3 separate regions of the Homo sapiens genome follow, and regions 2 and 3 are each linked to region 1. Evidence: promoter capture Hi-C in 16 types of primary human blood cells and fetal thymus (Javierre and others, 2016). All regions are on one chromosome and are shown on one strand. Each heading gives the region's core, a stretch centred on a gene start or on the middle of the fragment in contact. The rest is flanking DNA. Distances are from core to core; before and after follow the strand shown. Region 1 holds the start of UST-AS1 (UST antisense RNA 1). Region 2 has its middle 25 kb from the start of UST. Region 3 overlaps UST (uronyl 2-sulfotransferase).

Region 1 (3,621 bases), core at 462-2,961:
TTCATTTGGTCATCATTTGTTGAGCACCTACTGTGTGCCACACACTGAGCTAGAGCGTGTCGTTCCTGGCTGCAGGAGGCCCACAGTCTGATGGGAGAGGCACACATTTCCACACAGTGCAAGAGAGAGGGCCCAGGGCACAGAGGAGGGAGGCATGGACCCTGGGTTGGGCATTAATTGCTGAGGGATGTGATGTGACTCCAGGCTGGGTTTTGAAAGGTGAATGGAGTCTGCCAGCTGGGGAGAGGCAGGAGCGGGGTCCTGTCAGTTTGTTTTCTCTTAGTTCTTTCTGACCCCTGACAGAATGTCCAGGCACATTCCTCAGAAGGTCACGAGGCCATAGGGCTAGAGAACCCTGCAGGCCCCTCAGGAGGTCACCAGAGCATGCCCTCTGCCCAGAGACTGGGGCACTCTCCCCGAACTCCTCAAGGCTACTGCTTTCAAGCAGTTCAAAGAGAAAAAGAAGGAATCATTAAGAGAAATCCAGCCAATCTCATCACTCTGCTTCGGGAAGACCTTGTTCTTGGGCCAAGATTTAGTGGATTCATCTAATCCTTTCATGGAAGGAATTAAAATGGAACACCTGGCTATTTGCTTTATTTTTATCTGAAGCCACTTGCCATCACTTGAGGATAATTATGTTGAATTTTGTTTCATTCTTGATATCCCACACAAAATTTCCTCAACTCCAGAAATCACTTTTCCATAATTAAGAGCATAGATTCTAGAGCCAGATTGCCTGGACCCATATCCTAGTTCAGCTACAAGTTATGAACCTTATTCCTGCCTCAGTTTCCCCAAGTGTAAATGAGGATAATTATTTTTTCTACTCCATTGACGTGTTATGGGGCTTCAGCAAGCTGGTTACATGAGGTATTTAGAACAAGGTGAATAGCGAGTGCTCAGTGAAGACTGGCTGTTATTCACTCCCTTACTGCAGAGCACCTGACCCGGAACTGTTTGAATTACAATATAGAGGAAGTGCCGTCTCACCCAGCAAGGCAGTCAGAACCTACCAATCAACTGAAACATTCACCGAGGGCCAATTGTGTCCCTGTGGGTTCTGTTCTAGCCATTGGAAATACTAAATCCAATACAGAGTGGCCCCCATCCTCAAGAAACCTACAGCCTGGTGAGAAAACTAGACACCATCTCTTCCTTAACATGCACAATGGTGTGGTTTGTACCGTGCTATACTATGAAATGTCCTCACAGCCCCTCAACAGGTACCTGGAACAGGTATCATCCTCCCCACTTCCTGCATGATAATAAAATGCTTATCAGGAAACACCGTTTGCTTATTACGTGTCATTGGCACCTTAGCATAGGAGGTCATCTTTCAATAAGTTAACCTAGAGGGAAGGGGAGATGTTGTCTAAGTAGGCCCTGTTTTCGTCCTGCAGTGATGGGTTGTAACGAACTCAATGTTTGTGTTAGGTTTGGAGGAGACCAGCCTGTCTACATCAACATCATTAGAGACCCCGTCAACCGGTTCTTATCCAACTATTTTTTCCGTCGCTTTGGAGACTGGAGAGGGGAACAAAATCACATGATCCGCACCCCCAGCATGAGGCAGGAGGAGCGCTACCTGGTAAGTCCTGTCGCATGCAAAAGGCGGTCTCCCCACTGCCTGAGGAGTGGGCCCTCCACCAGGGAAGGTTCACTCTTCCCTTCCCAGGCCTTCTCCTTGGCGCCTCCATGGAGCGTGGCGCAGAGAGGGTGCTTCCGCAGGAAGGAGGTCTTGGCGAGAGAAACTGGTTCCGGGTGACCCAGATCCTAATGAACATTTCCTCAAATTATTTTCTGATTTTGCTTTGCTCAGTTGTCTTTAGTGCTAGGTTTTGGGACCCAGAGCGTTAACAGTCTTTCCTAAGGAGTCCTGACTAGCACTGTAGTGCTTAAGAAGAACAAAGGTGTTGGGGGGGTGTCTGTTAGAGGGCGGCAGAGCCCCTTCTCATCCCTCAGCCCATTCAGTTCCCATGACCACTCTGGGAGGGGGAGGTGTTTTCAGATGAGGACCCTGAGATTCTAAAGGTTGTGGGATTTGCCACAGTCACCTCTCAGGTAAGGGCGCAACTGCGACCGACTGTTTCGGGTTTCCTGCCTTCACAGTCTGGGTTCTTTCCACCACAGCGCGATAGAACCCTGTCATTGCACCAGTAATTGTTTGCTTTCTCTGGACTTGTTTTGGGACCCTCAGCTCCATAAGGGATGTTAGTCTCGAGCCCAGTAATTATTTCCGCAGCACAGAGGTTGGTAACAAAAACGGAGGGCGGAGTTGCGCGTCTTTCTTTCAGCACTAGAACGAAAGGTACATTTCCCATCCCTGTGTTGAGAAACATGTACTGAGGAGCTGACAGCCTGGTGCCCAGGAGGCTGAAATCCTGGTCTCTGTGTCTGAGAGAGCCCTTGGGGTTCACCCGGACCCATCCTGGGCTGTTGTCGGGCACAAGCAGGAAAGTAGGAAGTGTTGAGGATCAGTCAGAGGTGTTGTTCCCAAAGCTGGAAGATCGCCCAGAGCTGAGGCCACTGCTGATGTGCCGTCAGCAGCAGCCTTGCCGCTGGAGAAAAGCACCGAATCTCAGGGCCACGGCCAGGACGGCTGCTTCCTCATCTCATTTTAAAAACATAATGGAAGTGGATGTTCAGAGGCTGGGAGCATTTGGGGATGATGTCCCCTCAGTGTCACGTTCATGTTTTCAAATCCATGATTAGAGTAGAGAAAACTGAGATACAGAGAAGTTAGTGTCTCAGCCAGGGCCAGACGACTACACCAGACCCACGGCTTTCCACTCACCTTCGGTATTTGATCAACTACCTAAGGCTTCAGTGAAATATTTTGATGATTTTATTTTTATTTTTATTTTCTTCCTTTGATGATATATTTTAAAAGTGGCTTTTCCCTTTTTTTTTTTTTTTTTTTTTAGTTTTTATGGCGAAACCCTAATCTATTTCTTTATAGGTTATGAGGCCGGGCGCAGTGGCTCACGCCTGTAATCCCAGCACTTTGGGAGGCCGAGGCAGGTGCATCACTTGAGGCCAGGAGATCGAGACCAGCCTGGCCAACATGGTGAAAACCTGTCTTTATTAAAAATACAAAAATTAGCCGAGCATGGTGGCGCATGCCTGTGATCCCAGCGAATTGGGAGGCTGAGGCAGGAGAATCCTTTGAATCCGGGAGGCAGAGGTTGCAGTGAGCCAAGATCGTGCTACTGCACTCCAGCCTAGGTGCCAGACCGAGACTCCATCTCAAAAAATAATAATAATAATAATTAAATAAAATAAAAAACTATAGGTTATGAATATGACTATATGTTTTTTATTTGGTGAGACGTGTATTCAGAGTATAGAAACACTACAAGAATAATGTCTTCTCTAATTATCTTTATTATTTGTTTTGGATCTTGATTAATATATCTATATGCTCTTTAAAAACAGCATACATTCCATTTAATCCAGACAATTTTTTCATAGTTCTGATTCAATCCTCATGCTAAGAAAGTTAGAACCAAAGGACAGCAGAAAATGCCAAAAAACCAACAATACAGAAACACGTCTTATGAACACTACTCTTCAAATATTAATGTAAGAGTTAAGAGGAATGCTCTAGCTTCTTCCGTT
Region 2 (3,621 bases), core at 759-3,258, 240 kb before region 1:
TCTCCTATTATAAATGTTTCCCAGGCCATCATTGACCTCATTGGGTCCCCAGTCCTTTTGAAGTTCTTCTCCTTGGTGTCTTATCAATTACTATCTTCCACTGTCTTCAAACATATTTCCCAGGTTATTCTTGTATATAGGACACGTTAAAGCCACTATGTAAACTGTCACCTTACAAATTCATGACTCTAGATTTTGATGATTTTTTTCAAGTTTACACATAAATACCTTGGAGAAGAAATTACCATTAACATCAGATGCCTTAGTACAAATCAAGTTATCATTGGAACTCTGGGATTTCCAACCAGAGCGGGAAATGAGACCCAAGGGTAAAGGGGAAGCTTGGCTATCTAACCCTTGACTCCCTACCCAACCAGTGGGCTACACTCATTGAAAATGTACACAGAGCCAATTGTTCATGATGAAAAATAGTAAAGAGAAGAGGTTAGGAGCAGAGGGAAGCAGAATAACACAGACGAACAGCCCTGGATTCAATCACCAAAGCAGATTCAGATTTGCTCCAGTGTTTTCTGGGATCAAAACTCCCACTGCTGCGGCCTCAGAGACATTCATTCTGAGTAATCCAGGAAGTCTGTTGATTTCATTCTTGCTCCAGTGCTTCTGCTCTCCAGCTCCAGCTTTCCTGGAAAGCCACGCTCCTTCTTTTTCTCTTACAGTCCACATGGAATATGTATGTGGGGGAGGAGGGCCAAAAAACTTAACAACAATTCATGTATGGAAAAAATAAGACTTCTTTACTTAGCCTATATCTATTACAGTCTTCCTCATAAGCTCCCAATCACTGGCTAGCAGTAAAAAAATAGTGAAATGTCCAATCTGGTTTAAAGTTTAGTCCAGTTTGGTGTTTTATGTTGACTCTCTATTAAATCAAACAGTTCTGCCTCTCAGATAGACTTCCCCTCCCCTGCCTTTCCTATAAGATAAAGCAAGGATATGAGCAGAGAAAGGGAACTCAGGGTCTTAAGCATGGTGTCCTCTAGTCATTGCCTCTGAGGCAGTGCCCTGTTCACTAGTTTGCTGGGCACCCAGCTGATCCCTGAAGCTGAAGTATGTAGCTGTTGAATTCATGATCTGTCCCTTTGGCTCAACCCTGCTCCCAGCACCACTCCCCTGGCTGACTCAGCCTCACCTTGGCTCCTGCTGGCTGCACCCTCAAGCCATTGCCAGGGTCTCCAGCCAGCCATCCGGACTGGCTGTCCGCTCCCAATCTTCACTGTGAGATCACTTTGCCCTTTTCCCATGGACCTGTGGCTGCCCCTGCTGCAGCTCCATTCACCATCTGCATCATTCAGTTAAAACTGAAGTCTACCCTTCCTGATCATATTGCAATATTCCATAGTTAATTAAAATTATACATTATCTGACTTGTAGTTACCCACAAACTTTAACTCTATTTAAATGTACACTTTTATATCAATATCTAGAGTTTTTCATGAGCCATATCCTCTTTCCTCACCCCCAAACTCTCAGACTCTAGGCCGGCTTCCCTCTGTTACTCTCCTGATTTCCCTCTGTTACTCACCCTTCCTCAACAAGATTTCAGATCCTCTGGCCCATTCTGATTTGTGATATACCAGATTTACCAGATTTGTCTACAAATCAATATTTTAAAGTTTACTTCACTGTTTAATTCACTCTACTGGCACCAGGGGCCACTTTCCTATTAGCTTGAGAATTTTCAGTAAAAGTAATGAGTAATATTCATTCACCAAATATTTATTGGTTACCTCCATGGGCTGAGGACTGGGGATGATGAGGAATACAGCTCCTTGCAAGATGGATATGGTCTTTGATTTCACACAGCTTATTTTCTCTCAATGGGTAACTGATACTGGCCACCACTGCAATTACGACGTACATTTCTAGTATGCATCAAAAGTTCCTAGAGCAGGCCCCCTCTCCTGTAGTCCTTCCCTGCTCCCTCTCCAGGTCTCCTTCCCTGCTCCCTCTCCTTAGCTCCCTCCCTCTGCTCTCTCTCCCTGTCTTCTTCCCTCTCACTGCCTTCTTCTCCACTCCCTCTCCCATCTGTCTTCTTCCCATGCCCATCTTCTTCCCTGCCTGTCTCCCAACCTGCCTGTCTCCCCACTTTTTCTTCCTCACCATCTTCTTCTCCATTCCCTCTTAAAAAAGAAAAGAAAAGTTCCTAGGGCAGACTTATTTTAACTTGTTGTGAATGGGTATACAAGGATGAATTGGTTAAAGCTGTTTATATTTGGGTACTATAATAGGACACTTTTCGCTGTACATCATAGCCTATTCAATTAGAGATAGCTTAAAGAACAGCAAACTAATTATTCATATTTTAAGAAGTCTGATAGTAGGGTCACACCAGTGTTGGTTGGTCAATTCAGTAGCAGAGCAATGTAGGGGGACCAACTCTTCTGGTTATTCCAGGGCTGAAAAATTTCTTGGGACAGAGGACTTTCAGTGCTAAAACTGGTACAGTGTCAGGTAAACTGGGATGGTTAGTAATCCTATCATATCACCAAGCCAGTCCTTGGCTTTGTCCTCCTGGAGCAGCTTCAATTATTATATCTTCATCAAAAATCTTTTGAAAGTAGGACAGTGAGTGCATTTCTGTCTTATGTCCCTTTATATGAGAAAGAAAAAAACCTTTCCAGAAGCCACCTGGCAGATTTCTCCTCTTATTTCATTGGCCAGGGTTTTATCATAAAACCATACTTATAATGATAATTCTAAATGGATATTAATCATGATTGATTAGGATTAATTAATAGTCATCCCTTAAAACTGGGAAGAAACATATGCAACATACATCTTACAATATGTGAACACATTCTGATTCTGTTAGAAAGGAAGAAGTAGAGAGAAAGGCTTCCCTGTAGATAATCAATGGCACTGTTTGCAAAACATTAGGATAGACTTTTGCTGCTGTTGTTGTTCATCGTGTAGGTTACGTGTTTGTAAGATCTTCACAACCAAATCACTTTTAGTATTGCTCTTTAAAAATGTTTGAGGTTCTGCAATTATGTAGTTATACTTGTAAGTTCCTAGGTAGGATGACAAGGTCTGTGTTAAATTTCTTTCCTGTCTCCAAGCAGAAAACTAGTGAAAAACAACAACAACAACAACAACAACAACAACAACAAAAACTGGACAAAATCATTCAAAACAACCATCACAAGGTACTAGAAGATGACCAAAGGCAGACAGCAAATTAAGGAAAATCTACTCATGAAAAACTGCTACTGCATGAAGTAAGACCGACAAGACTGTGGGCTTCTTACTTGAAAGGGTTCTCATCCTTTCTCTTCCACAGCTCAAGTGGTAAAGACCATTATCCAGTAGTAGTTGAGTTGTTGTTAACAGGTAGTGAAAACCTGTTTTTTCCAGGTGGAGATGACAGATTCAGTTTGGGGTAGGAGCACAAAATTTGTAGCTTTATCAGACAGTATCAAGTATTTCAATTCAAGGAAGATGGCAACCAGCTAGAAATTTAAATGTGAGATATTGGAAGTGAGAGCCATAGAAGGGCTGAAATAAAACTCTCCACAAATCTCTGAATGATTGCTAAACTACACATATGTGGAGAACCCAGAGAGCTTGTTAAAAGTGAGGTCAAAGGGGACTTTGTAATTG
Region 3 (3,621 bases), core at 728-3,227, 180 kb before region 1:
AACCTGAAAATGGGACTAAATTGCTGCTATCTCATGATCAAACTTGAACAGATGAACAGATGAGGAGTTGCTTCTTTTTTTTTTTGAGACAGAGTCTCGCTCTGTCACCCAGGCTGGAGTGCAGTGGCGCGATCTTGGCTCACTGCAACCTCCACCTCCTGGGTTCAAGAGATTCTCCTGTCTCAGCCTCCCGAGAAGCTGGGATTACAGGCGCCTGCCACCATGCCCGGCTAATTTTTGTATTTTTAGTAGAGACAGGGTTTCACCATGTTGGTCAGGCTGGTCTCTCGAACTCCTGATCTCGGGTGATCCACCTGCCTCGGCCTCCCAAAGTGCTGGGATTACAGACATGAGCCACAGTGCCCGGCCAAGTTGTTTCTTATGGATAAGCCAAAAAAGCGGCTTCTTGAGATGGAATCTACTCCTGGCGAAGACGCGGTGAACATTGTTGAAATGACAACAAAGGATTTTGAATATTTCATAAACTTAGTGGATAAAGCAGCTGCAGAGCTTGAGAGGATTGGCTCTAGTTTTGAAAGAAGTTCTACTCTGTGTAAAATGCTATCAAACCACATCATATGCTATGGAGATCTTTCGTGAAAAGAAGAGTACATCAATGTGGCAAACTTCGTTGTTGTCTTATTTTAAGAAAGTGCCATAGCCACCGCAAGCTTTAGCAACCATCACCCTGATCCATTAGCAGTCACCAACATCGAGACAAGACCCTCCTCCAGCAAAAAGATTATGACTCACTGAAGGCTCAGATGATTGTAAGCATTTTTAGCAATTAAGCATTTACAATTTTTATATTAAGGTATATACATTATTTTTAGATATAAGTGTATTATTGCACACTTAATAGACTATAGTGTAACATAAACATAACTTTTATATGCCTTGGATAACTAAAAAACTCACTATATTGTCATATTTGCTTTATTCTGGTGGTCTGGAACTGAACCTCCAATATCTCTGGCACACATATACACAAATAACATTTCTGTAATCTGATAGTTTTGCCAGATAAGTCATATTCTCATTGACTAACAGAGCTCAAGTTTTAATCAACCCAGCAAAAAGCATTTCTCTCCTGGAGTTTTTCCCATGTACACCTTTCCCCTGAAGAAGCAGACGTATCATTATTTTAAATAATTCTTCCTTCTTAGGAAAAATTATAGGCATATTTTCTTCTCACAGCTACCAAATGTCCTTGATATCTGTGCATGCACATTTATATGTAAAATCAGAGCTTCTTGTGGTTTTAGAATTGGAAGAGGCCTTAGAGATGAACTTGTCTGGTGATTCTCAACCCCTAAGCATGTTCTTAACGTGAACACTTGGGAGTGGAAGCCTGGGGAACCTGAAATAACTACACATTTCCTGCTAACCTTCTAATTCCTAGTCTGCCATCCTTGCAGTAGTAAGGTTCCCCTGTGCAGTGGGAATTTTCTGTCCCCAGGGGGTTGGGGACAGAAAAATGTTGCACTATAGATCTCATCCAACCCCGCATTTTACAGGTGAAGATGATGAGCTACAAGATTCAATGATATCTTCAAAGTCACACAACCCGGCCTAGAAATAGGCTGCTGCTGATCAATCCACTGCTTTCTCTGCCTATGAGTTTTCCCCAATGTCAGTGATTTCTGTCCTACCTCTGTAATTTACGGCATATCACGAAACCCCAACCCTCATACGCTTCATCATTTTAAATAAAGACTGACTTTTATATGTGAATAATTTATGAAAGAAACTGTAATCCATATTCGATGTGGAAATGTAACCACATTTCACTCACTATGAAAAAGGTAACACTAAAAATAAATGCTATGAAAAAATATATTAAATTTTAACTAAAGTTCCCCACTTAAGTTTCTGAGCCTGAAGTTTTCTCTCTGCTAAAAAGAGAGATTATCAAGTTATGAAGAGTTTAAACATAACACTAGCCCCAAACGATGACACTCTTTTTATGTAATCGGAATTATTGAATGAAAATTTTGAAGGAAATAACATTCTCTCGACATAAGTCCAGGCAGTATTTACTAACCAACACACCATCTCAAATCCTCTCAAGTTCCACCAGTGAGTGAGCTGTGTACCCATTCACGAGGAACTGTCTCCCAAAAGGGAAGCTATATCAGGCAAATCATACCTCTGTCTGTATCTAAGCTGGCTGGAAGGTATTAGATTTGGTGGCAATCAGAGTATTAATTGGAAAGAACAAGTGGAAAATTGTACATATATTGGCTGTTTATCTTGTGTATGTGTCCACAGACACCCTTAGAAAAACTGAAAGCACAGTGCCTGCGATATGATAAAAGCTCAGTAAATATTTGTTGAATGAATTGATGAATACCTGGTGAATGGCAAGCATTCTGCCTCAAGTCAGGTAGAAACAATAGACTGGTAAAAGCAAGTTGCTGCATTTTGTTTCAAGGCACTTTGAAATGTCTTATCAGTGGACATGAAGTATAGAAGACTTAGCAGACTCAGGAAGAGCAGAGCATGGCCATGGAATATTTAACAGATAATGAAGAGCATATATGTGGCCGGGCGCAGTGGCTCGTGCCTGTAATCCCAGCACTTTGGGAGGCTGAGGCAGCCGGATTGCCTGAGCTCAGGAGTTGCAACCAGTCTGGGCAACACAGTGAAACCCTGTCTCGACTGAAATACACGCCGGCTTGGCGGCGTGTGCCTGTAGTCCCAGCTACTAGGGAGGTTGAGGCAGGAGAATTTCTTGAGTCCGGGAGACAGAGGTTGCAGTGAGCCGAGACTGAGCCACTGCACTGCAGCCTGGGCGACAGAGCAAGACTCCATCTTAAAAAAAAAAAAAAAAGCATACATGCATTTAGGCATTAAGATGCTATAGACCATTATCTTTTATAGTCTGTGTCACACTTCATGTTATGTATCAAGAGGAGAAAAGCATCTCAGCCCAAGATTTGATTCCTGATTTTACTACTCAATAGCTAGATGATTTGGGGACAACTGCATAATATCTTTGAGACTACTTAGATATACAAATGAGGACTATGATAATGCCTACCTCAAAGGTTGTTGTGAGGGTTAAATGAGGCAATGCAAATGAAAATTGCTTTATAAAGACTAAAGTGCTATATTAATTTGCCTTTATTGAAATTACATACTATTAAAATGACCAGCGAACTACCATTTGTGCAGAGTGGTTGAAGAATATGGCATGCTGATTATTTGAACATTCTGGATAATAGAAGTATAGTACATGTCTTTCTGGTTAAAAAGAATTACAATAAAGTATTCTTAACATCAAAGCTTACTAACACAACTAATCGTTTGGATGAGATTTCAAGATATTTCTATATATTTTGTGGGCAGCACTTGAACACTTGAATAGTATAAGATGTTGAGGAAAAAAATGCTTAGGAAAAGAATACACTCTAACTGATACCCCAAACCATGTATGTTAAAAAAGTAGTTCCTTAAAATATACATTTACTCATTATTGATCCCTTGCTTATAAAAAATGTATGAATTGAGGAACCATCATTGGATATACAGAAGTAGAATTATAGAATTTGTTTTTATGGGTATTTTGAGGGGTAGAAAACAAGAATTATTTTATTTTGCCCTGTTCAGACAAAAATA

What was found. Contacts are between HindIII fragments. The CHiCAGO score rates a contact against its expected background, and 5 or more counts as called.
Region 2: a fragment that was not itself captured here is called in contact with the fragment with the promoter of UST-AS1 in region 1 in 8 of 17 cell types (total B cells, naive B cells, naive CD8 T cells and 5 more); the score reaches 13.8 in total B cells.
Region 3: a contact is called between a fragment that was not itself captured here and the fragment with the promoter of UST-AS1 in region 1, in 1 of 17 cell types (naive B cells). The highest score is 5.3, in naive B cells.

The regions. Positions count from the first base shown.
Region 1 is chr6:148,962,973-148,966,593 of GRCh38, forward strand. UST-AS1 (UST antisense RNA 1) reads right to left here and starts at 1,712. Exons shown (of 3, transcript NR_038408.1): 1 at 1,589-1,712. It overlaps UST (uronyl 2-sulfotransferase), which reads left to right. Exons shown (of 8, transcript NM_005715.3): 5 at 1,438-1,591. RefSeq lists enhancers at 600-1,176, 1,177-1,753. The HindIII fragment of the contact is 7,762 bases long and covers 1-3,621 here.
Region 2 is chr6:148,719,979-148,723,599 of GRCh38, forward strand. No RefSeq gene overlaps it. Among named protein-coding and RNA genes, the nearest start is that of UST, 25 kb to the right of the region's middle. The HindIII fragment of the contact is 3,339 bases long and covers 340-3,621 here.
Region 3 is chr6:148,782,384-148,786,004 of GRCh38, forward strand. All of the region lies in intron 1 of UST (uronyl 2-sulfotransferase), which reads left to right. Among named protein-coding and RNA genes, the nearest start is that of UST, 37 kb to the left of the region's middle. The HindIII fragment of the contact is 2,617 bases long and covers 670-3,286 here.